Regions from separate parts of the Homo sapiens genome. Here regions 1, 2, 4, 5 and 6 are each linked to region 3. The links are contacts of gene promoters, found by promoter capture Hi-C in blood cells and fetal thymus (Javierre and others, 2016). All regions are on one chromosome and are shown on one strand. The core of a region is centred on a gene start or on the middle of the fragment in contact, and the rest is flanking DNA. Distances in the headings are between cores, read along the strand shown.

The links. The method cuts DNA at HindIII sites, captures the fragments that hold promoters and counts their contacts. A CHiCAGO score of 5 or more calls a contact.
Region 1: a contact is called between a fragment that was not itself captured here and the fragment with the promoter of COX7C in region 3, in 1 of 17 cell types (monocytes). The highest score is 6.5, in monocytes.
Region 2: a fragment that was not itself captured here is called in contact with the fragment with the promoter of COX7C in region 3 in 2 of 17 cell types (non-activated CD4 T cells and monocytes); the score reaches 7.0 in non-activated CD4 T cells.
Region 4: the fragment with the promoter of TENT2 here is called in contact with the fragment with the promoter of COX7C in region 3 in 1 of 17 cell types (naive CD8 T cells); the score reaches 6.7 in naive CD8 T cells.
Region 5: a contact is called between a fragment that was not itself captured here and the fragment with the promoter of COX7C in region 3, in 1 of 17 cell types (non-activated CD4 T cells). The highest score is 5.7, in non-activated CD4 T cells.
Region 6: a fragment that was not itself captured here is called in contact with the fragment with the promoter of COX7C in region 3 in 1 of 17 cell types (naive CD8 T cells); the score reaches 6.7 in naive CD8 T cells.

What each region holds. Positions count from the first base shown.
Region 1 is chr5:81,505,322-81,509,725 of GRCh38, forward strand. All of the region lies in intron 5 of SSBP2 (single stranded DNA binding protein 2), which reads right to left. Among named protein-coding and RNA genes, the nearest start is that of ACOT12, 110 kb to the left of the region's middle. RefSeq lists a silencer at 1,766-1,915. The HindIII fragment of the contact is 1,639 bases long and covers 706-2,344 here.
Region 2 is chr5:81,294,589-81,298,733 of GRCh38, forward strand. The region is part of intron 1 of CKMT2-AS1 (CKMT2 antisense RNA 1); the gene reads right to left. Among named protein-coding and RNA genes, the nearest start is that of CKMT2-AS1, 4.9 kb to the right of the region's middle. The HindIII fragment of the contact is 1,501 bases long and covers 1,801-3,301 here.
Region 3 is chr5:86,616,086-86,620,434 of GRCh38, forward strand. COX7C (cytochrome c oxidase subunit 7C) reads left to right here and starts at 1,856. Exons shown (of 3, transcript NM_001867.3): 1 at 1,856-2,045; 2 at 3,268-3,411. The coding sequence starts at 1,971. The coding sequence ends at 3,384. RefSeq lists enhancers at 1,524-1,603, 1,615-2,280, 1,667-1,961, 1,894-1,983, 2,281-2,946. The HindIII fragment of the contact is 5,230 bases long and covers 1-3,655 here.
Region 4 is chr5:79,609,959-79,614,054 of GRCh38, forward strand. It overlaps TENT2 (terminal nucleotidyltransferase 2), which reads left to right and starts at 2,483. Exons shown (of 15, transcript NM_001114394.3): 1 at 2,483-3,117. It overlaps LOC124901014 (a long non-coding RNA gene), which reads right to left and starts at 2,379. Exons shown (of 2, transcript XR_007058840.1): 1 at 2,184-2,379; 2 at 1,513-2,062. RefSeq lists an enhancer at 2,088-3,287. The HindIII fragment of the contact is 9,139 bases long and covers 1-4,096 here.
Region 5 is chr5:94,116,254-94,120,545 of GRCh38, forward strand. The region is part of intron 4 of LOC105379087 (a long non-coding RNA gene); the gene reads left to right. Among named protein-coding and RNA genes, the nearest start is that of ARB2A, 6.7 kb to the left of the region's middle. The HindIII fragment of the contact is 8,496 bases long and covers 1-4,292 here.
Region 6 is chr5:79,509,396-79,513,167 of GRCh38, forward strand. It overlaps HOMER1 (homer scaffold protein 1), which reads right to left. Exons shown (of 9, transcript NM_004272.5): 1 at 3,375-3,772. The coding sequence starts at 3,379. It also overlaps the pseudogene RPL29P15. Among named protein-coding and RNA genes, the nearest start is that of HOMER1, 2.9 kb to the right of the region's middle. The HindIII fragment of the contact is 1,134 bases long and covers 1,642-2,775 here.

The DNA.
Region 1 (4,404 bases), core at 275-2,774, 5.1 Mb before region 3:
CTGATATAGAACATAAGACAAATTGTTCCTGAACGCTACCTTGTAATAAGTTATTCTTTTAAAAAGCTAAAGTCTTTCTAATATATGCTTAAGACAAATCTATTCCCCCTAAATATGTAATTAATAGTATATTTAAATGCCTGTTCCTTATCTTTAATTCCCCAAAGAATGTGGAGCATTTTTGTTTCTGTAACCAACACTAAAATAAAAACTAAATTAAATTGTGTTATAAATAGCCTTTGCATATTTACAATTTCCTCTCTATATAAATTTTTTTTATCAAGAAATGTCAATAAAAACTACAGCACTCGGAAGAATTTTCAATAATATTTTCAAAAGAAAAACTATAATTTCAAATGATCTGAACAATAGCTAAGCTCTTATCTCAGATGTGATTTTAAACTATGATGCTTTATTGTTTCATACTAAATGTGTTGGACATCTTTGGCTTGCAGGAGTAGCATGAAAAGTGAAAGGAAAACCAAATACTGGTCTAGAATGACCAGCCTAAATTTCTCCTAAATACGCAGTTTGGCTAACAAATAAACAACAAAAAATTGGATTTCTAATAGGAAAGTGTTTCATTTGATTCTAACTGGAAAACCCAAGTAAAGACTCTGAATACCTGACACTCCCTTCTTTGCTCTCTGTCCATCCAGTTACTGCTGTAGGGTCTTTAGTTGCCTGAATTGCAATTTTTAAAAAAGCTTACTTAGTTATTCAAGCTGGGCAGTTTTAATTTGTTCTAATAGTTGAGGCCAGAAAAACTATTACCACAACTGCAGGACAGCATTATCAAAGCCAGCAGCTGTTAGGCACCTTTGTTTTTTTAGTTGCTTTTATCTTTATAACAGGGAAAGATCTGTTCTATTTTCAACATTTAGAATCTGTGTTCTTTAAAGATACAAAATTATATTTTTAAGAAAATTAAACTTAATTTTTATTTCTTGAGGTTTGATAAATAAGCCAACTTCCTCACCTCCACTATCTAAATCCTAGGTGTATTTAATTCTGAGAAATACTATTTCTAACGTCTGAATTTTTTTAAACTATATATATTAATGCTGTTAGATATTCTAGTCTAATAAATTAATTCTACTTCAGAGTTTCAGTACCCTACTCATTCAAACTAAGAAGGATATAACAAGTAATCTTTTGGTTCATTTATCTAAGATCTAAGATGGTATTTATAACTTCCTAAGAGGGAAAGGGAGTTTCTCCTGGCTTAGAGTACTTTCTGAGACTAATTTCTGAAACAACCATAGTCAAGAAAGATAAGAGGAAAGGCAAACCACTGGAAGTGAAGGTAATGCCAAGACTAATAACAGAAGGAAATTGAGAGGGCATGTAGATTATTTAACTATATGTATATAAACGGCTGGATTTAGGAAGTCTGAATAGGAATAGCAGAGTAGATGAATATAGATACTAAGGTATCTTCAAAATGCAGAATTTATTTCCAGAAATAAACATCTATCTCCCAAAAACATTTAACCAGGACTTATAAAACCATATATTATTGGTTTTCTTTTTTAGTTTTGAGTGTCATATTAAATAATTATTTTTCTCATTTTTGATTTTTTCTTTTAAAATATCAAAAATATTATACACTTTGAGCTTTTTGTCCTTGTTGCTTTATGAATGTTGTTTATATGGAGCCTTCCTTAGTCAATAACACCACCATGGAGAAAAGAGGAAATTTCTTACTATTTTTTTTTCTTATTGCGTTATTACTATGTCAAAGCATTAGGTCAGCTTGCTACAGTGCAGCCTTGCTAAAAATAGAAAGTCTAGAAAAAGGCCCTGAACAAGTGGAGCCATCTGCAAACTACCACTAGATGGCAAGGCAGCTTTACCACTACCAATCTTAGGCCTGCAAACCAAATGTGACTTAAAACCTGCTGTCACATATTTTCTACTATATCAGAGTTTCATTCTACTTAGATTTTAAAGTATGAATGATCACCTTGGTCTGAAACTAAATTACTTGGTATCCTTTTTCATTAACATGTATTTATAATCTTATCCACGTCAAAGTCTTAAATTTACAACCCAACATCAACATATTATCAGTTTTCAACAGTTTCATCTAATAAAACTAAAGATCTAGTGACTAAAATATAGTAAATATATCAAGATAAAAATCAAAATACATGATAAAAGAAAACAAAGGTCTATATAGAGTTCAAAATTAGATATTAACAGGTATATCCCAGATTAGTTACAGAATCAAAGATATTATCCACATTAGCACCTATTAAAAGATTACGTTGTGTTTTTATATAAAGGATATGAATGTATTTGGTTATTAGAGTGATAAGGAAGTTATAGTTTCCTTCTTAAAAGCTTTCTTGTGGTAAAGAACATAAAGTAGGAAAAAGCATTTTTACCCTTCTCGATATTTTTTTGGTTAAAATAAGAAACGTCCATTGCATTAATGTTCTATAAGTTATAGAAATTCACAAGAGAAGCTTCCTTGTTACTTACTCATCCATAAAATTACAGAACTTTACAAGGTAACAGAGTTAATAATCTAATTTTTTAAACAAAAGAATTAGTACTTTTGTGTTATTTAGTGCATTTTATTAGTAGTAAATTATTTTGATCATTATACATAAGTGAGAAGAAAATCCACTTGGTCTAAGGAATGCTGCTGCCTATTTATATTGCAGGAATCAAAGTCCTTTGCCTGTCCTTTTGTATGAATGCCACAAGAATGAATAAATAGCATATCGATGCTTTTAATACATAACTCAAATTTCTTAGCATACAATGAAATCTTTGAATAAGACAGAGATATAAAAGAGTAAAACTCAGTTCTGGGTACCTACAATGGATGTGTATTCACACCATACCAAGATACTGTACTTTATTCTACAAAAACTGCCAAACTTTTAGTTAGATCAATGGCCATGTCTACTCTCTTCCCTCTGGATCCCAAGCAGCAAGACTTCCCAATTTAAGAAAGCTGCTCTAAAGTCATTCATCAGTTCCATAGTGTCACTCTGAGGACTTATAGGGTTTCTTATACAAATTACTCATTTGAAAACAGACTCCAAGTAAATAACTACATGTCATACTTTAAATGGCTTTATTTTATTAAATTTATACCTCCTTTTGCATGTCCGACTAGTCTTACTGATTTTACTTAATTGGTTTCCTGCTCAGCAACAGAGGCTCTCTCATTTCAATAAAAACATCAAAGTTTAAGTATGAACAATGTCACAAATAGAAAGACACTAAAGACTGCCTTCCAGAATGGATTTATTAAGTGTACCAAGTTATATCATAATTATTTATTTTAGACTTTAATTCATTGCTATTTTTCAAATGTAGTTGTTATGTATTCACAAGTTCAGTTTGTGATCATTCCACTTGGTAATGAATTTAAGTCTATACTTATCATGGAAGAGGGAGCTTGTTCTGTAACATAAACAGGAAAAAAAGGAGTATGTTTGTCTATTTAGGAGAAATGTTTCAATGTATTTTTTAGAGTATGATCACAAAGTAAGTAGAGCTCAGAAATACTTAGGCGGGGACTTCATTTGCTAATTATAAATTATTCTTCTTTACTTTTACTTATTCACTAATTCTAATAGGCTAAATTCTTTTTCGGTCTAGTCCATTCAAGCTATCTCAAAATAAGCTTTGCATTTACTAAGAATATAAGTTTAAAATATTATCATTATCTAAAAGTCAAAGGCAATAGGAGGTAACCACCCTTCAGAATTTAGTAGTTGCAACCAGGAGAGGCTGGAAAAACTATTTAGCACCCTTTTGACTAAGTCTCTTTTGAACCAGGAATTCCCTAATATCCAAGTCTGGCTTTTTGGAGAATCTGAGTCTTTATCCTAGCCAGCCTTCTGGGCCTTGTTACTTTAAGGAGCCACATCAGCTCTTTTCCAGTTGCTTCCATTCCTCCTTGCCTTGTACTGAACTAATAATCAGGATTGTGCCTGATCTTGGGTATTAGAGTTTATGAACTGTGAACTGATACTCCAACACAGGTTCTCCAGATTTGGATCATTCTTGAAGGTCAACATCTCTTTGGAACTAGATTAGAAACTGGGGTGTGAACTTGAATTATGATTGTCTGCTGCTATTTCTACCCATGGAAAGCAGCTACTCCTCATTAACTATATGTATTTTGACATTATGACCAGAATCACACTAGTTCAGTAACTGCAGGAAACCAATGCTGATATTTAGGACACACTTGAGTCATTTGATCACATCATTATATGTACCAAAAGATAATAATATAATATGTCTTTTTTAAATTTTTGGTACTTTGAGTTTTTTAATATTTTAGAGAGTCATTTATAGGGAGACATATTTAAATGTTGAATAGAGGAAAAAAGTACTTGGGATTAGTTGAAATAGTCTGCCTAGATAAACAGAAAT
Region 2 (4,145 bases), core at 1,301-3,800, 5.3 Mb before region 3:
AAAAAGACCAAAAAAAAAAAAGTCAAAAACAACAGATGCTAGTGAGGCTGCAGAGAAAAGGGAATGTTAATACACTGTTGGTGTGAATGTAAATTAGACCAGCCACTGTGGAAAGCAATTTGGAGATTTCTCAAAGAACTGAGAACTACCACTTGATCCAGCAGTCCTGGGTCTCAAAGGAATGTAAATCGTTCTGTTATAAAGACACATGCACTCATATGTTCACTGCAGCACTATTCACAATAGCAAAGGCACAGAATCAACCTAGGTGCCCATGAATGGTGGACTGGATAAAGTAAATATGTACATATACACCATGGAATACTATGCAGCCATAAAAAGAAATCATGTCCTTTGCAGCAACATGGATGAAGCTAGAGGCCATTATGTTAAGTGACTTAACACAGGAACAGAAAACCAAATACCATATGTTCTTGCTTATAAGTAGGAGCTGAACACTGGGTATTCATGGACATAAAGATGGCAACAACAGTCACTGGGGACTGCTAGAGGGAGGAGAACAAGGGTTGAAAAACTATTAGGTATTATGTTCAGTACTTGGGTGATGGGATCAATCATAACCCAAGCCTCAGCATCATGCAATATACCCATGTAACAAACATGCACATTCTTAAGAATGCTGTGTTTCACAAATTGCACATTCTAAATTCAAATTGTTTGCAGATTTTGTGATAAGGGAAAGTATACATAGTTAACACCTTGATTCTTACATTTAAGAGTAACTTAAGTAGTAAATAAAGGAGAAAGATGTAAAACTGAGCTTCAAGAGAATCAAGTAAATACTACTCATAAAATGGTTAAACACAAGTTTTTAAAAAATTTTTTTTATATTGTGGTAAACATACGTAACAAAATTTACTACTAGTCATTTTAAGTGTACAGTTCTGTGGCATTAAGCATATCCACAATGCTGCATAACCATCACTACCATTCTAAATTTCAGTTTTAAAAACCAACATCCAATACAGGAAAAGTGGCAACACATGTAGATTGAATACTGTACCTTAGGATTAGGTCTTAAAAGTCCTTCTTAGTATTTAAAAGAAGAATTTTTAAAAATTTTATATATATATAATATATATAAAATAGATATATCATATATGATATCTCTCTATATCATTAGATACGTCTATATATGTCTATATATCATATATAATAGATATATCTATTATATATCTATCATATGATATATATCATATATCATATGATAGATATATCTATTACATATTATAGATATATCTATTATATATCTATATCTATTATATATTATATTTAATAGATATATCTACATATAATATATATTATATATTATATAATAGATATATCTACATATATTATATATTATATATAATAGATATATCTACATATTATATATAATAGATATATCTACATATAATATATATTATATATAATAGATATATCTACATATTATATATTATACATTATATATAATAGATATATATCTATTATATATTAGATATATATTATATATCTAATATATATTTAATTATGTATAGTATATATAAGATAATAGATATATCTATAATATATAGTATATATCTTATATATACTATATATAATAGATTAATATATCTATATTATTATATATAATATTGGTTATATATAATAGATATATAATTATATGTATCTATTATATATATATATCTCTATCTGGTTTGCTGTACTTCTCCAAGACATACTGTTTAGAGATCTAAAAGCCACATACACTCAGTGTAGCTAATCTTCCTCTCTGAAAACTTGCTGGTGACTTCCATATAAAGCTTCCCTGGGCAAAACTACACAAGTGCCTTCCTTCATTTGCTCCTTGAGGAATTTAAAATCTGTTTTTTTTTTTTTGAGACAAAGTTTCATTCTTGTCACCCAGGCTAGAGTGCAATGGAGCGATCTCAGCTCACTGCAACCTCTGCCTCCGAGATTCAAGCGATTCTCCTGCCTCAGCCTCCTGAGTAGCTGGGATTACAGGTGCCTGCCTCCACGCTTGGCTTTTTTTTTTTTTTTTTTTTTTGTATTTTTACTAGAGACGAGGTTTCATCATGTTGTCCAGGCTGGTCTCGAACTCCTGACCTCAGGTGATCCGCCTGCCTCGTCCTCCCAAAGTGCTGGGATTAAAGAAGTGAGCCACCGCGCCTGGCCCTGTTTGTCTTCTTTACCAGATTCCTCTGGGGGTATGAACTGTGTCCAATTCATCTTCATAGAGCTCACCATTAGACTCTCACATCTTCCGGAATATATGTAAATGTGACTTTCTACATCTTCTTGGTCCATAAATGTTTCTTAAATATTTGTGGGACCTCTTTTCCTATGATCATTTATTTGCTATGCCATAGTTTTGGGCAGGTTATGTTTTTCCTCGTATGTGGTCCTCTTAAATTAGTTCATCTGAAATCATTAATTACTGTACTGTTTTTACCCAGACTTACTGGTAGATTATTTTATATAGTAGTTACTAAATCAGTACGAAATATTTTTGCCACTTGGTTATGTTCACTTTGACCTTTTATGAAGTACTAGCATAAATTTTTATCTCTTTTTTGTGTATATGTCAGCGTGTGTCAGTCTTATCTGCAAAAGCATTTCAGCTTATTGGAGAGGATTTTAGATCGAGTACATGTATTTATTTTTTACTGACTCCTCCTCCTCACCTCCCTGATCCCTCTCTCCAGTTGTCTGCAACACATTCTACTGTGAAGTTTTTCTTAAAACTTCCCAGGAAGAAATATTTTATCTGTAATCTCTATATCACCATAATTCCCTCACTAATTATAACATCAGCTTATTAGTGGTTTAGCAATCTGTCTTACTCTCACAGGCTCTTGGCTGCTTAAGGGCAGGGACCTCTCTGTCATTTGTATATATTTAGCACTTAAGGTACTGGCAAATAGTAGACATCAAAAAGTGCTTTTTCCTCACCTATCCTATTTTACAGAATTCCATTTGTAACTGCAAGACCTCTCATTGTTCCTTGGAATGGACAGTCTAAGGCCCGTATCTGGTATGATTTCCTCAGACATAAGGAGGAGGAAGTACGCATTTCAGAGAATAAAGGAGAGCTTGCAAATCTTGCCACTTGTTTGTAATTTAGGTTTAAGTATTCATTTGAAGCACTTAACATCCTAACCACCGAAACACATGATTAGGAACTCAAATTTGAGAAATACAACAAGATGGTAAGATGAGTCAGAAGGATACATCATTTTTGTGATTAGTGTTCCAACACTATTCTTTATCACGTTTAAGCAAAGAAGATGAAAGAGATTCAAGCTTTTTCAGAGGGTAACACAAACTTTATATTATTCCTATTCCTTATTGCCTAGGAACCTCAAGTAACTTCCACTAATAGGTTTCTCTTGCTCCACACTTCCAATAGATTTTCTTTCACTTCTGAAATAAAGCAGTATTGCTTGTAATTTTGTTACTGAGAAAACCAACAATGCAAATGAAAGCATGTTAGTTAACAAAATTCAGTCACTAGCATTGTGTTCTATGGCAATCACTTAACTTCTCTGAAACTTAATTTATTGATCTGTAAAACAAGAAGATAGGGTTTTAAGAGGTATGTATTTCTATGAGTCTATAATTAGAAATTCTCATGTGCTGTGTCAAAACTCCCATGGATTAAAAATAACTCTTTAATAATGATTCTAAATGTAATACACACCCATTAAAGAATATCTGTAAAATTATGTATAAAGAAAAAAACCCTCACAATCCTATTACTCATGGGCCTTATTGTAAGGATCCTAAAGCAGCTAAAAATATCACTGACAGGTTTTTAAGATGTCAGAATGTCACTGGTCTGGATCTTATTTTTATTTCCAACAGCAGGGTCATTAATTTTTTTCCTCTCTCTTCTGCTGTATTTTTCTGCATACTATAAAAAAGTTCAATAACTGCCCGGAGAATGCATTAGGTACAGTTTTCCACACAATCCTCTTCTCCAGATCTATTTTATGGGATCTCCTGTATGATCTAAAACACTATCCACAGTTGTTCATTGCTTAAGCTCTAATGGATAAAGTTTGAACACTATAATTTCACATTTAAAAACACTTTAATTTGGCAAAATCTCATCCCAGCCTTCCTTTCCAGATTCACTGTTCTCC
Region 3 (4,349 bases), core at 606-3,105:
CTGCCCCCGCCTCCCAAGTAGCTGGGACTACAGGCGCCCGACACCACGCCCGGCTAATTTTTTGTATTTTTAGTAGAGACGGGGTTTCACCGTGTTAGCCAGGATGGTCTCAATCTCCTGACCTCGTGATCCGCCTGCCTTGGCCTCCCAAAGTGCTGGGATTACAGGCGTGAGCCACCGCGCCCGGCCAAACATATTTTTTTTTTTTGTATTTAACTTACCACAAAGCCCATGAGAAGGCAGACAGTTCTGAAACCATATTCTGGAATCTCTGCCCTGCAGGTCCCTAAAGAGTTAACTCAAAGCCAGATACCCAATGGAGGCTCAATTAATGTGAATTAGAAGCAACAATGAACCAAATCCACAGATAACATTACTCACACTAGATTGAAAAGTGTAATCTAGAAATATTAAGTGTGAAAAAGTTTCTCAATTATAGTTAAATCAGAATTCTTTAATATGTAAAGGCAGTGAACGGAATGTTAAAAAAAAATGGAATGTCACATAACTTCTATAAATTAGGTGGTAGAGGACACCAGTTATGATGCATTTCATGAACCCCTACTCAAAAAGAAGCTACTTGTTGAAACAAAATATGAATTTAAGTGTTTTTTTTAAGTGTTTTTTTGGGGGGGAGGGGCATGGTTGTTCTCTTCCAAAAACTGAAAAAAAAAAAAAAAAAAAAGACGAAAAGAGCATATATGTTATGCCCTTTTCAAAGCAAACCTTAGGTCTTATTGGAATTGTTTCCTAATGCTATATAAATGAGACACGTGAGGCAATATACACTCCCCCACAGATGAATAACATAACATTTAGGTTACCAGGGCCTTTCACAATCTAACCTAACACCACTTTCCCAGGTTCATTTATCACTGGTTTCTTCTCAATACCTTCTGGTCAAAGACCACCAGAAGCACACATGTAATTGACAAACGGGGTTTATTATTCATTGCAGTAAGGGTTCTCTGTAAAATATTAGAAAATGCTTATTGGATTTGGGATTTTTTTCTCCTAATATTGGCTACCTTACCAAATCTTAGGAGGAAGAAAGGCTAGATCAAGGCTAAGATTGTAATTGGTAAAGAAGCAGAAGTCATCAAATTAAACCAGATAGGGTGATGTCCGGTCATTTTCGTGGCTTGGACAATGTTTTATCTGTGTTCAGATGTGATTACACAGTGATCATATTCTTTTCTTAATGAACACTGTCAGAGTGGTCTTGTTGGATGCTAATGCTTGCTGAAATTGTGTACGTTCATCAGGCGGACACCAGTTCCTAGTCCAGGCTAGCTCCAGGTGTCAGAGGCCACTTTTCCCTTCTACTCCTCACACATGCTGTACTCATACCAGACTTGAGTTTTCCCTGCCCTTTGTTCTTCCTTCTTTTTTATTCGATTCCCATTATCTTTAGTGATCATTCCCTTAGCATTTCAGTTTTCTCTCTGAAGTCCTTTGTGCTGCACGTTGTTTGATTACTTGTGTTTATGCTTTGTTTCTTCAGCTAGGATCATTAGCACATATCTCTCAGCATTGGCAAAAGTCCTCGAAATCATTGACACCTAGCATATACTTTATTTTTAAAAAAGAAAGAAAGAAGAGAAAAGGGATGGGTTTATTGTCCTTTTCAACAGACTAGAGTATACGGGGTGAAACTGCTTCACTTGATTCAATAAAATCGTTTCCGGTAACAGGCCCCAGGAATCCTAGACCTAAGCCTGGCGCGAAACTACATTTCCCACAATCCTTCGGGGGCTGATAAGGCTCCGCAATGGTCTGAACTACAATTCCCACAATCCAGGGCGATTTCCGCTTTGTCGCGTTTCCTCAAGGCTCCGCCCCATTTCCCATCTTTCTTTTCAGTCCTTGCGCACCGGGGAACAAGGTCGTGAAAAAAAAGGTCTTGGTGAGGTGCCGCCATTTCATCTGTCCTCATTCTCTGCGCCTTTCGCAGAGCTTCCAGCAGCGGTATGTTGGGCCAGAGCATCCGGAGGTTCACAACCTCTGTGGTCCGTAGGAGCCACTATGAGGAGGGCCCTGGGAAGGTTAGTGTGTAAGGGGCACGGCTTCGTTGGGGGAGGGGGCGCTTGGCTGTGACTCGCGCACCTGCAAGGCCGCCTCCGGGCTGTGGCGTGGGAGATGATAGCCAGAAACCAGGCTGAGACGCAGACTAGCATTCCACTTAGCCCAAGGACCAGTGAGGAAGCTGGGCATCCTAGCGCGTAGCCGCTAAAGGAATGGGCAGGTAGATCCGGAAGCCCTGCCTCCATCAGCCACCTGACGCCCCCTCCCCCGCCCCGCAGAAAGCCCTGAGATGGCTCCGGGAGGCCACGGCTGTAGGTGTGTTGGTTAAATCCGAGCTGGAGGTCATCGGACCCGAAATGAAGGTCATTGGAAAATCATGAGGAAATCAGGGCCTCTGGTTATGGAACAGGCTTTTTAAACTAGCTGCCTAAGTTAGAAGTACTAACCCTTCACCTCAGTTAAGGCTGGGTTTGGCCTCAGGTGTAAATAACTTAAACCACATAGCAGTAACAATCTCGGAGGGTCACACGAGGCCTAGTCATAAAGGCCAGAGAAGGTGCTTGGTAATGAAAAACAAACAAACAAAAAAAACTGTGGGCCAGGTGCGGTGGCGCACGCCTGTAATCGGGAGGCTAAGGCGTTCGGATCACCTGAGGTCAGGAGTTCCAGACCAGCCTGGCCAACATGGCGAAACCCTGTCTCTACTAAAAAGTACAAAAAAATTAGCCGGACGTGGTGGTGTGTGCCTCTAATCCCAGCTACTCGGGAGGCTGAGGCAGGAGAATCGCTTGAACCCGGGAGGTGGAGGTTGCAGTGAGCCGAGATCGGGCCACTGCACTCCAGCCTGGACAGAGCGGGACTCCGTCTCAAAAAAAAAAAAAAAGAAAAAAAAAGAGCTGTATTGCACTTAACATTGCCATGTATCTTCTAAGGTGACTACTTAGGACAGTAGTTTTTTCGATTTTCTAAAGTAAGAAACTTCTCACTATTTGACGTTTGAGTCCTCAAGACCATTCATTGCCTAGTGCTTAGTAAAGCCAGATTATTTCTTGCCATGTAGTGTTTTGTGATGAAGGTCATAGGATTTGAAAGATAAATGTTTAAAACGATGTTATGATTTATGGCATATGTTAACCTGATGATGTAAAATATAACTAGCATTTCCTGTATACTTGTATTTTGATTATTAAGCAGATGATTTGAGATTCAATTTCGATTACTTTTTCTCTTTTTTTCCAACAGAATTTGCCATTTTCAGTGGAAAACAAGTGGTCGTTACTAGCTAAGATGTGTTTGTACTTTGGATCTGCATTTGCTACACCCTTCCTTGTAGTAAGACACCAACTGCTTAAAACATAAGGATGTTTCAGTTCCTCCATTTAACAGGTAGTTAGTGGATTTCTAATCATGTTAAAGCAGGCCTTTTTATTAAGTAGCCTCTTCCCCATCACCCAGAACACACACACAAATACATTGTTGTGTAGGGCTGATTCCTGAGGTTATGTGTAGATGTGGCATTGGTGGAGACTAGTTGTAAACCTATATAAAAATATTTCAATAATGGCCAGTGTTTATTGAATACTACTGCTTATCAGGTACACTTTACATCGATATCTCATGTTCTCTAGCAAGCTTGTGAGGCGGATGATAGTAACCCCATCTGAGACACAGAGATGTTAAGTTGTTCAACATCTCATAACTAGTATAATGGTGGACCAGGACTCTTGCCCAGGCAGTTTCTTGTTGCAGAACTCACACTTTTAACCAGGTAAAACTGATAAACTGATTAATGTTACTCTATCTTGAACACTGTTACTAGAACAGTAGCTGAGAATGTGTCTTTTAAAACACTATAAACATTTCCATTTCTTTTAGAAAGTGGTCACTGTGCTCCTAGTTTTTAAATTGGCTTACAATACTTGTTTAAGTTGTGAAAAATCCCTGAAGATAAAACCCTTCTAGTGCTCCTTGATACATAAGTCCCAGATAATTATGCAATTGTAAATCTGTGCCTCACCAACTCAGCCATGTTGGGAAACTCAAACTTTTAAATATACTTTCCTCATTAAGGCAGTGGTTCTTAAATGAGGATGATTTTACAACACAATGGGGCATTTGGCAATGTGAGACATTTTTGATCGTTCCAACTTGGGGGCAAAATTACCAGTGGTGCTGAGGTTGAGAAGCCTTGTGTCAAGGGGATATGTTAATATATGCTCAAAGGAGTCGTTCATATTGGAAGGTTAGCAGATTTGCTGTGTGTGGATAAAATATTTAGCTTAATTGTCATCAGAGTTTCTCAGAGTAATACTATAGAACACTAG
Region 4 (4,096 bases), core at 1,233-3,732, 7.0 Mb before region 3:
TATGGTAAATTACATTGCTTGATTTACCAATGCTAATTCAACCTTGCATTCCTAGGATAAGCCCCTGTTTGGTTATAATGTATTATCTTTTTTATATATTTTTATGTATTTATATATTTATATATCTTTTTTATATAATCTACTTTTTACTGCCTTGTCTCATGTAAACCTGTGTAATTTCCCATTGGGTCCACCTTAGGAAACAGTCTTTAAAGTTTTCTCCGTAAAGCAAGTACCAGTATACTCTTTTATGGTCAATACAATGCTAATTCAACCTTGCATTCCTAGGATAAGCACCTGTTTGGATATAATGTATTATCTTTTTTATATACTGTGAAATAAAAGTGACTAGAATTGTGCATATTATGTTTATGAGAGATATTGGTCCATAGTTTGCTTGTTTAATATCTAGAGTTTGGGTATTAGTGTAATGCTGGCCCCACAGAATGAGCTGGGAAGTATTCCCTCCTCTTCAATTTTTGGAGGACTTTATCTAGAATTGGAATTATGTTTTCCTTATATATACCATGTTAACACCCTACAAAAGAAAGCCTAAGTAGCTGTAATACTATCAGACAAAATATACTTCAGAGCAAAGAACATTATCAGCAAAGAGGAGGGTCATTTGTAAAGTGGATAATTTCATAATAATGAAACTTTCATAAAGGATAAATTCATACAAATAAGAGAATAACTATGTTTATGCAACTAATAGCTGAGCTGCAAAGTACATGAAGCAGAAATTGATAGAACTACAATTGAAAAAAACCAGTAATAGTCAGAAATTTCAATACTCTCAATAATTAGTAGAATAAGTAGACAGTAAATCAGAAAGGATATAGATTTGAACACTAATATCAACCAACTTGACATGATTGACATTTATAGAACACTCCATGCAACAACTGCAAAAAACACATTCATTTCAAATGCACAGTGAGTATTTACCAAGACAGACTATATACTCTGGGCCACAGAACAAGTGTCAATAAGTTTAAAATTATTAATAGTGTACGAAGTACCTTCTCTGATCACAATGGGATTAAATCAGAAATCAGTAACAGGCAGCTACCTGGAAAACTCCTCCACATTTGCAGACCAACACTTACAAAAAACCCATGGTCAAAAAAAGAAAGCAATAGGGAAATTACAAAGTATTTTGAAATGAAGGAAAATGAAAATACAATATATCAAAATATGTGGAATGTAGCTAAAACAGTATAGAGGGACACTTATCACACCAAATGCCTGTACAAACAAGAGACATCTAAAATTAATGGTCATCAGTTTCTGAGTTAAGAAACTAGAGAAACAAAACAAGAAATTTAAAAATTAAAAAATAGCAGAGTAAAGGAAACAATAAACATAAGAGCAGAAATCAATAAAATAGAAAACAGAAAACCAGTAGAGAAAATCCAAGAAAGCAAAAACGGGCTTTGAGATTTGAGATCCGTAAACCGAGAAGCCCCTCACCAGATCGATCAGAAAAAAAGATGACACACAAATTACCAATTTCAGAACCTGAGGGGTCAGATTTTATAGACATTAAGTGGACAATAAAGGAATACAGCTAACAGATTTGCATTATTAAACAATTTAGACATTTCTACAAATTATTAAAGCTCACTCAAGAGGCGATATCAATAAATATTTGTTGAATTAGTGAATACCAGCTATTACTATGGGCAAGGCGCTAAGTCCAGGCTTTAGAGAGAAAGAAAGCATTTTTTTTTTTTTTTTTTTTTGAGACAAAGTCTTGCTCTGTCGCCCAGGCTGGAGTGCTGTGGCACGATCTCGGCTCACTGCAACCTCCGCCTCCCGGGTTCAAGCGATTCGCCAGCCTCAGCCTCTTGAGTAGCGGGGTTACAGGCGCACGCCACCAAGCTCGGCTAATTTTTGTATTTTTAGTAAAGATGGGGTTTCACCATGTTGGCCAGGCTGGTCTCGAACTCCTGACCTCGTGATCCGCCCGCCTCAGCCTCCCAAAGTGCTAGGATTACAGGGGTGAGCCACCGCGTCCGGCCAAAGAAAGCATTTTCCTTCCAAAGAAGCTCTCAGGTTACTGGAGGGGCAAAAGAACAGATAAAGTTTAATGTTGCTCCGGGGGAGAAGATTAGGGGAACACTGGTTAAAGAAAGGCTTCTCTGGGGACAAGTCACTCGGCCAACACACGAAGGACCCACAGAAAACGTCTGTTACAGCTAGAACGGCTGCACGTGAGTTCAGGCAAGGGGCCCAGAAGTGGCCCTCCGGCGACTGCCTGCTCCACCCCTCTTAGTGCAGTCCTAACCCTTTCCCAACTTGTGCTGGCAGCAGTTAAGAAACTCCTTTCAAATCCGGCTGTCTTGCGCCTGCGCATTCAAGCAAAGCGCTCATAGGCGGGGTGGGGGGGGTGGGGGGGGTTGGGGGGTGGGGGGGGTTGGGGGGTGGGAGGGAGGCGGCCACCGGAAGTGTGACCTTTCGCTCCCCGCTGCCTATTCTCATCCGGGGTCACGTCGGTCTTCCGGGTGTCTTTGACAGGGTTTTCTACGCCGCTTTTTCGGCGACTTTTTGCTCTTCCGCTTTTTGCCACCGCCCCCAACCTTCTATATCCTTGCAGCCCCTACCTTTTCTTGTGTTGCTCCTCCCCTGGCAGCCGTGAGGGGGGTTAGATCTCAGCCGGAGCCGGAGCTGGGCCTAGCTGTCCCACGGGCCACCACTACCTCCTTTGGTTCGGGAGAAAGCTACGACCAAGTACGCCCAGCTCGGGCCTTAGAACTTCTGAACGGGCAGTGCGGGTAGGCCCTGCTTAGCCCTTCCCGGAGGACACCTGTGAGTTTAGGGGGTTTCGGAGAGGAACGCAGCAGTGTAGGCCCAGGTCGGCGGCGGGGCACGGGAAACTTTTCCGAAACGGTAGCGTTTTGTTTTGCGTGGGAGGTTCCAGCAGTATCTCTTGGTTATTCCAAATTTATGGGCGGCATCTGGGCTGCTGTACATTTTGAAGAATCTTAGGACCGCTTACTTTGCTTACTCGTTTTCTATTCCTCGCGTACTGCCTCGTCCACCACTCCAGGACCAAAAGAGGAAGATAGTCTTGGGACCCTTGCATGGTGTTTCAAAGGGTGGTGAAGAACTAAGGTACGTAGCTGGATTAATTAAAAAATTTAAAAGGCATTTATCTTTTAAGCCTTAATTAAATGGCATGAAATTGCTTCAGCTTTTCACTTTATAGGAAAATGCACAGGTTAAGACTGTTGTGTGCGTTTCTTTTCTTGTTCAGCCTTTGTAGAAAAGCTCTTCGTCTCTCAAGGTGAGAACACGAAAGGCTTATATGTCTCAAAACTTATGGATTCTCTAAATTACTTGTCTTATCTCTTTCAACTCTTTGTTTAAAGTAGCAGATATTTTTCATTAGGGTGAACAGAGAAGAAACAAAGGGAAACTGTAAAACACAAGCTAAATAACACATGTGCAGTGTATGATTTTGTGAAGAAAGAGATTGTAACTGATTACTAAATCTGTGTTTTTATATTACAGGTAACATAGTAACTTTTGTAAATATCTTCATATTGTATGGTTCAGTACCACCAGGCTTCTAACACGTACTGATTAACAGCCATAAGGCTATTAATTTATACTGATTAATAGCCAGTAATAGTGACGTTACTTTGTTGGTGTGAATAGCCCTAATTATGTCTGTTCTGGAAATGTCCTGTAACAGGTTCCATGTGAAATAGGCCGTTTATGAGTTGTTTAAGAAATGCCCATTTGGAGCCATGTGACTAGATTATTTTTTTGAACACTTGGGTGTAATTTAATTCTTAACCAAAAGGAATATCCTGTTCAAAACCTGGAAGTAGTTTTCACAGTGGGTTGGCAGGATTTAGGAACTGGATTTTTCGTATTGTGGAGAAAAGTGGGTTTGAGATATCAAAGGTATTTGGACAAAATGGACAGTATCTTGGTTTAGCCAGTAAATTTCTGGTTTTCATTCTAGGTATATTCTGCTTTCTAAAGAATCCTGATGAAGGAATTATATATAACCTTGAGTGTTCTCTAATTTGTTGGAGGAGAGGTCAAGTTGAGGACAGAAATTCCAGGTTGCAAATTCCAGGAC
Region 5 (4,292 bases), core at 1,294-3,793, 7.5 Mb after region 3:
ATTTCTAAGCAGCAAAGCATTCAAGAGGTGACTTGGATGCTGTTAAAAGCATTCAGTTTAAAAGGGAAACAGAGCATAAAAGTTTGGAAATTCTGTAGCCTGACAATGTAGAAAAGAAAATCCCATTTTTTGAGGAGAAATTCAAGCTGGCTGCAGAAATTTGCATAACTAATGAGGAGATGAATGTTAATCACCAAGACAATGGGGAAAATGTCTCCAGGGCATGTCACAGACCTTTGTGGCAGCCCCTCCCACCACAGGCCCAGAGGTTTAGGAGGAAAAAATGGTTTCGTGGGCGGGGCCCAGGGTCCCTCTGCTGTGTGCAGTCTAGGGACTTGGTGCCCTGCATCCCAGCCACTCCAGCCATAACTAAAAAGGATCAAGGTGCAGCATGGGCTTTTGCTTCAGAAGGTAGAAGCCCCCAAGCCTTGGCAGCTTCCACATGATTTTAAGCCTGTGGATGCACAGATATCAAGAACTGAGGTTTGGGAACCTCCACCTAGATTTCAGAGGATGAAAGGAAATGCCTGGATGCCCAGGCAGAAGTTTGCTACAGGGGTGGGGCCCTCTGGGAGAACCTCTGCTAGGGCAGTGTGGAAGGCAAGTATGGGGTCAGAGCCCCCACACAGAGTCCCTACTGGGGCACTGCAGAGGGGAGCTTTGAGAAGAGAGCCACTGTCTTCAGACTCCGGAATGGTAGATCCACTGACAGCTTGCACCGTGTGCCTGGAAAAGCTGCAAACACTCACCACCAGTCCATGAAAGCAGCCAGGAGGGAGACTGTACTCTGCAAAGCCACAGGGACTGAACTGCCCAAGACCATGGGAACCCACCTCTTGCATCATCATAGTCTGGATGTGAGACACGGAGTCAAAGGAGATCATTTTGGAGCTTTAAGATTTGACTGCTGGATTTTGGACTTGCATGGGCCCTGTAACCCCTTTGTTTTGGCCAATTTCTCCCATTAGGAATGGCTGTATTTACCCAATGTCTGTACCCCATTGTATCTAGAAAGAAACTAACTTACTTTTAGGTTTACAGGCTCATAAACTGAAGGCACTTGCCTTATCTTGGATGAGACTTTGGACTGTGGACTTTTGAGTTAATGCTAAAATTAGTGAAGACTTTGGGGGACCATTGGCTTGGTTTTGAAATAGGAGGACATGAGATTTGGGAGGGGGCCAGAGGCAGAATGACGTGGTTTGGCTGTGTCCACACCCACATCTCATCTTGAATTCCCATGTGTTATGGGAGGGACCCAGTGGGAGGTAACAGAATCATGAGGGCAGGTCTTTCCCTGCTGTCACCATGATAGTGAATAAGTCTCATGAGATCTGATGGTTCTAAAAAGGAGAGTTTCCCTGCACAAGTTCTCTTCTTTTTCTGCTGCCATGTGAGATGTGCCTTTCACCTTCCACCATGATTGTGAGGCCTCCCCAGCCATGTGGAACCATAAGTCCATTAAGCCTCTTACTTTTGTAAATTGCCCAGTCCTTGGTATGTCTTTATCAGCAGTGTGAAAATGGACTAATGCATTTGCCATGAAGTATCTTGCTTTTATTATTATTTTCATATCACTCTAGTATATCAACTTTTGAAACAAAAGACATTCTATTTATAGCATTCAAATTTTAGTAGTGGCATTTCCATTTGCAAATATAGTAATTCTGTATTGCTGAAAATGTCAAATCCTAGAAAATGAAGCATTCCTACATGTGATGTTAACATCATTCTCAAACAGTTGTTGGCTGAAGATTCAATTGATGAATCTGATTTTTCTGAAAGAGATCATTCTGATGATTCAGACTATTCTGATGTTAGTTCCGTTTAGAAATAACTCCAAGAACAGTTTTCATATTTTATTTTTCACATAGAAAATCAATCAGACTTGCTTCAGCCTCAAAGAGCATGTTTATGTAAAATTAAATGAGCACTGGCAGTGAGCTGCACTTATTTTCCTAAATGGGAATAGTTAGGGAAGCTCACGAGAGCTTCAACATTCAGAATTTTTGAGGGGCTCCATTGTGGAGGCATCACTGATCCATTGTCCATATGGAACTCAGTCTTCAGGTCAGATGATACATGACCCAAAGCCTCTAAGTCATGTGGTTGGTCTTTCTAGCTTGGGGAGCCTCTACCCTAAAACTGTTGGACATAGTCAGTCTTCCTAAACAAAAACACTTTTGCCAGCTATGATAGGTTATTTCCCAGAATCTGAGGCCACAGGCCAGAACTCTCTTTAGGAAAGGCCCAATTCTTTACTATACAATATTTCACATGGACTCCTATATAAGTTTTATTTGGATGAGAGGTGGTAGGCAAAGGAAGAGAAATGGTAATTAAGTCTCTGTCATACTAGTGAAATCATCAGGAATAGGTGATTAGTTTTAAGTAGTACAGAGACCAGTCTTCTTCAGTTTAGTCCTAGAGAACCTTTCCATTTTCTACTTAGTGTCTCTCTTTTAAATTTCTTCTCACCATTCCTTTATGAAAAGAGAGAATAAAATAGTGTGAGCTTTCTTGTGAGCTATGTAAAGATAAGACAACAAAGAGGAAATATGTAAAGGATAGGCTCTCTGACCCTGACCTTTTTCTGATCTCTTGAATAGTAATTGGATAGGTTGGAAACAGCTGTGGAAAGCTGTAGCTGCATCCCTAACAGAGATTTGTTTCTAAACTAAGCCTTTATGATAAAACTCCCTAATGATAAAAAAAAACCATGAAAATCCCCTAAACGGCCCACAAAGTACAGAATATATGAAGTTATGCTTATACTCTAGATCTTTACTTCTTATGCACACTCAAATGTGAAACTTCTGAAATAGTTTAAATGTTAGAGCTAAAGAAGAGTTTGTGTGCAGATATCTGAGAATTTAAACAATTCTGATAAATCCAGTGGGCAACTCGGTCTTTATTGTAACCATTCAGCAGCACTTAACACGATTTAACATCCTCTTTCTTAAAACTTGAAACACTTTCTGCATTTGACTTTTGTGAAATTATGGAGCTCTTTGATTTTCCTTTGCTGAATTTTTCCTGACCTCTAGATGTTAATGTGCCTGAGATGTGTTCCCTTCTTTATCTGCCTTTATTCCTGAGTTTATCCCATCCACTCCCTTCACTATTATATGGCATCACGATGCTGATGGCTTCCAAATATCCATATCCAGCCCCGATTTCTTTGATTTTCATATTCATATATCTAACTTCTTATTCAACATATCTATTAAAATATTCAACATACATTTCAAACTTCTTATTTTCTACCTCCAAAAGCTACTCCTATTGCATACCTCTTCATCTCACTAAATGACACATTGATTCTTACAATTGTTCAGGTTGTCCTTTGATTCTTTATCTCTCGTATTTCACACACAATTCCTCAGGAAAATCTGTTGCCTGTCTTCAAAAGGTAACCTAAATCTATCCAATTCCCAGCATCTCTACTACAACTATTCTAGTCCACAATAGATGCTGTAATTGATTGTTCTGCATGCTTCTGTTTTTGCCTCCCTACAATCTAGTCTCCAATTGGCAGCTGTGGATATCTTCTAAAAATTCATACCAGAACTTGTTGCTTCCCTGATCAAAATCTTTAATAAGTTTCCTCACTCAAATAGAATACAATCCAAAACCATTTCTATAAGCCTATAAAGTCCTGCATGATCTGGCCCTTCACTACCTCATACCTCCACTGAGTCAGCAGATGGTAAAAGACTGTTTTGAAGGGATGGAGAAAGCACTTGGCCAATAACCTTGGAGTTTCATAAATGGCAGTCTCAAAGTCAAGTACCTGGCTCTTTCCTAAAAATATTTAAAGACGAGAGAATTACTGAGGGTACCTTTGATGAGAGAGTAAGGAGATAAGAACTGTCATGTCTTCCCAACAGCTAGTGGACATGATCATACATGGATGGGTGTATTCGTTTTCTAGGCCTACCATAACAAAGTATTTCAGACTGGGTGGCTTACACAACATAAATTCATTTTTTCATAGTTCTGAAGACTAGAAGTCCAAGATCAAGGTCATGGCAGGGCTGGTTCCTTCTGAGGACTGTGAGAGAGAATCTGTTCCGTGCTTTCCTCCTAGCTTCTGGTAGTTTGCTGGCTATCTTTGGTGTTCTTTGGATTGTAGATGCGTCACCCAGATTTCTGCCTTTATCTTCACTTGGCATTTTCCCTGTGTGCTTGTCTCTGCATCAAAAGTTTTCCCTTTTATAGGAACACAAGTCATATTGGATTCAGTCTAACCTTAATGACGTTATTTTAACTTGATTACCTCTGTGATGACA
Region 6 (3,772 bases), core at 959-3,458, 7.1 Mb before region 3:
GAAATAAGTGGTTGAAGTTACTTGATTTCTGTTGCCTACTGTGATAGTTCTGAAATAGCTACTGACTCACTGCTGTCATTATGAGATACTATTTGGAGGTGGGGGTGGGGGTCATACCTAACAGGGGCTCCTCACTGAGGCTTCAAAACTTTTCAGAGACTTCATTTTACATACATGAATGCCTTAATTTTTAGGGGATCTGATACACCTATTTTACAAACCCATACTTTAGTTGCCTTCACTGCAATTAACAGTTCATGCAACATCCAAGATACTTTGACAGACTTTGCCAACTGTCAAGTTTCAGCTGTTCTTCTCCATTTCCAAAAAGTTCATAAACTACTATTAGGGGAGCCATAATTTTTTTCTGCCCAATCACTGATTTTATTAAAAATAATTCCTTTGCTTAGACTGCCCCTAGACTTGCAATAATTATCTACAATTAAGACGAAGATAAATCCTTATTATAACCTAACATTAGTTTAAAAAAAGAAGGTTGTAATATGTGAAACACTTTACCCACAGTATTAAATTTTAGATATCTATTACAGTAAGGTAATTATGGATTGCCAAGGTAAAGCTTTAAAAGCCATTTAAAGCCCTGTTTCCTTTTGCTTGAAATAGGTCCAGGCAGCTATGCTAATTCCACAAACATTTATTAGGCATAAATACGCATAAAGTGTGGAAACGTCAGCAAATGCCTTTGCTGTATGCTCTTCTACTTCCATCTACCCTTCCTCTCTCTACTCAAGTCACTATCAATGAGAAAGGGTCATAGCCCCAAATACAGGCTTTCCAAAAAAAAAAAAATAGCACCACAAAATGCTCGCTCCTTTTTCTCCTCAGTCCATATATAGAACTTTATTAACTAAAGGGCAGATACATTCATTTATAAACAAATTAATTATGCTAAGTGTCTAAATGCATGTTATGTGTGGTGCTAACTTTCCCACTTTAAACAACAGCCCCCTTAGTATTAAATTCATCCTGTCTCTTCAGATTCTAGGCGCTTCAGGAGCCGCGCCTTAAGGTGCAGACATGGCCAAGTCCAAGAACCACACCACACACAACCAGTCCCAAAAATGGCACAGAAATGGTATCAAGAAACCCGAAGCACAAAGATACGAATCTCTTAAGGGGGTGGACCCCAAGTTCCTGAGGAACATGCAGTTTGCCAAGAAACACAACAAGAAGGGCCTAAAGAAGATGCAGGCTAACAGTGCCAAGGCCATGAGTGCACATGCCAAGGCTATCAAGGCCCTCCTAAAGCCCAAGGAGGTTAAGCCCAAGATCCCAAAGGGTGTCAGCCGCAAGCTCAACTTGCCTACACTGTCCACCCCAAGCTTGGGAAGCATGCTCGTGCCCGCATTGCCAAGGGGCTCAGGGTGTGCTGGCCAAAGGCCAAGGACAAGGATCAAACCAAGGCCCAGGCTGCAGCTCCAGCTTCAGTTCCAGCTCAGGCTCCCAAAGGTGCCCAGGCCCCTACAGAGGCTTCAGAGTAGATATCTCTATCTGCCAACGTGAGGACAGGACTGGTGCGACCCCCCGCCAGGCTGCCATCTGCATGGGGCTGTGGGGCTGGGGTCCTCCTGTGCTATTTGTACAAAGAAACCTCAGGCAGGGAAAAAAAAATTCATCCTAAGCTTCCCTTGGTAAAATGACAGGCATTCATGCAGCTTAAAGGTTCTGGAAAACTGATTTTCTTCCATGATGCTACTACTCCACAGTCTAGACAAAATGCAGCCATCAACATGAAAAACTGCTGCTTGATTTTTTTTCCTCCAACATGTTTTAAACAGAGCTGCAGATGCTCAAGGGAAGCCATATTTCTAAGGTTTTGAACAGTAGTATTTTTCAGTATTTTTCTCATTTAAAATTGGTGCAATTCATCCAAAACATTTTTCAAATGCCATTATTTTTCAGCGTTAAGCGCTTAAACTGCTTAGAGTGAAAAAGGTCTCCATCAGAAAGATCGACTTGCAGAAACCAACTAGTGATCATTAAAATGAGGAGGAGAATAAAAAGAAAGCAATTCGTTTTTTACAGTTTGGAGAAATCTTTAAGTCATCTCTAAATCGTTCATTTTACAGGTAAGAAATAGAGTCCACAGAGGTCAAGTAATTTGCCTCAGATCACTAAGCTACTAATAGCAGCGCTAGAAATAGAATGAGGTATTTTAATTACTCTTAGCGGTACCCCCAAATCATGCAAGTTATATATATTCTCATCACTTGTCATTCAAGTTTTTAAAACCATTATAACTTTGTCATTAATTTCTGAGGAACGTCTCCTACAACATGCTCTAAATTTTCAAAGTTATGCATGTTAAACTTCAAATTCTAACTCCAAAAGGAAGGTACTATTCAAGAACTTTCCTCAGAAAGTTTCAAGCGTGTGTACACACCTAAACCATCACGATGAATTGCAGAGTCCATTCTTTAAAACATGCCCCTCAACTACACTTCAGATGTGTTTGTTCAACCACACACACACAAAAAGAGAAAATTCTGGAAGTTCTTCTGCCAAAAAGCAGTGACAACCTGTCAATGAAATCAGATTGCTCCATTAATATATTATGGGTTTCCAGCTTAAATTAGGAAGTGTCACTAGCATTTCATCAACCCACAGTGTGAAGAGTTAATAAAAGACTGGAAAATGCACTCTCAGTTGGCTCTGGGTCCGAAGGAAGGTGTAGATCTGATACTGTTAACTCAAACTGAAGGGCTGAGCTTAAAAGCGAAAAACAAAAGGAGTGAACAAGTTCCTTAAACAAAAAGCTTTTTCCTACGAAATGCACCCGTACCGTGGTGACCGCATCAGTAAGACTGAATTTCAGATTTTCGTTTTAACGCCCCAGTAAATCAATTCTATACATTTTAGCTTTGAATATTCAAGGACAAGACAGAGGGCACGGTGAGGGCAACAATTTACTCTGGATCACTTTCAAGGACTGTTGTCTAACCACTCATTAAAATCGTTCCTTTGTGCAACTGATTATCTAAAAGTACTGAGAGAATGCAGTACTTCTCTTTGAAAGATAACCGTCAGCAAAAGCTAAAATAATGTGATTTTGATTACAAACTGATGCAGCAGTCTGACCAGTAAAGTGTAGAATGCGTTGTCTTTGTAAACATTACTCACAAATCCATATTCAAGTTACAAACGATATATGTGTTTTTAAATTATGACCTCTGGTACCGCTCTACAAAAATGCAAAAATAACCTAAAAGGTTAGCATGCCTATTTCTTTAAAGTATGACCAGCTTAGCAAGGTGGCAAGTTTGTTTGAAAACACAAAACACAATCACCACCACCGCTCAATAATACACATACATAAACAGATTCGAAGCTGTGTTAAGCACAAAAATCCTTACCCCATTTTGCCCAATGAAAACTTGCTCTGAAGTTTCAGCTCTTATGCTACGGAATAACTTCCAAAGGAATTTCTCCGTCTGCTATTTCGCAGTTGCTTTTCCACCCCCACCCCCAGATCCTTGTCCGGAGGTATTTCAAGGATGCTGCCAATTCAATTAGTTCTCTTAGGTAAAATGATTTCTCTCTTGTAAATACCAAAACGTTCAAACAGAGGCGGCATTTGCTTATTCGAGTTAAAATGCTTTGCGGAGGAGACAGCGATCAACTCTATTCCACAAAATGAGTCTACAAGTAGGGAAATGCAGAATCCGGCTTCACCGAGTCCTATAAAAAATGAGTTCGCTGGTCATTTCACTCATGTCCTCCTCGACACTCAGGGAGAGCCAGGTAACTCGGC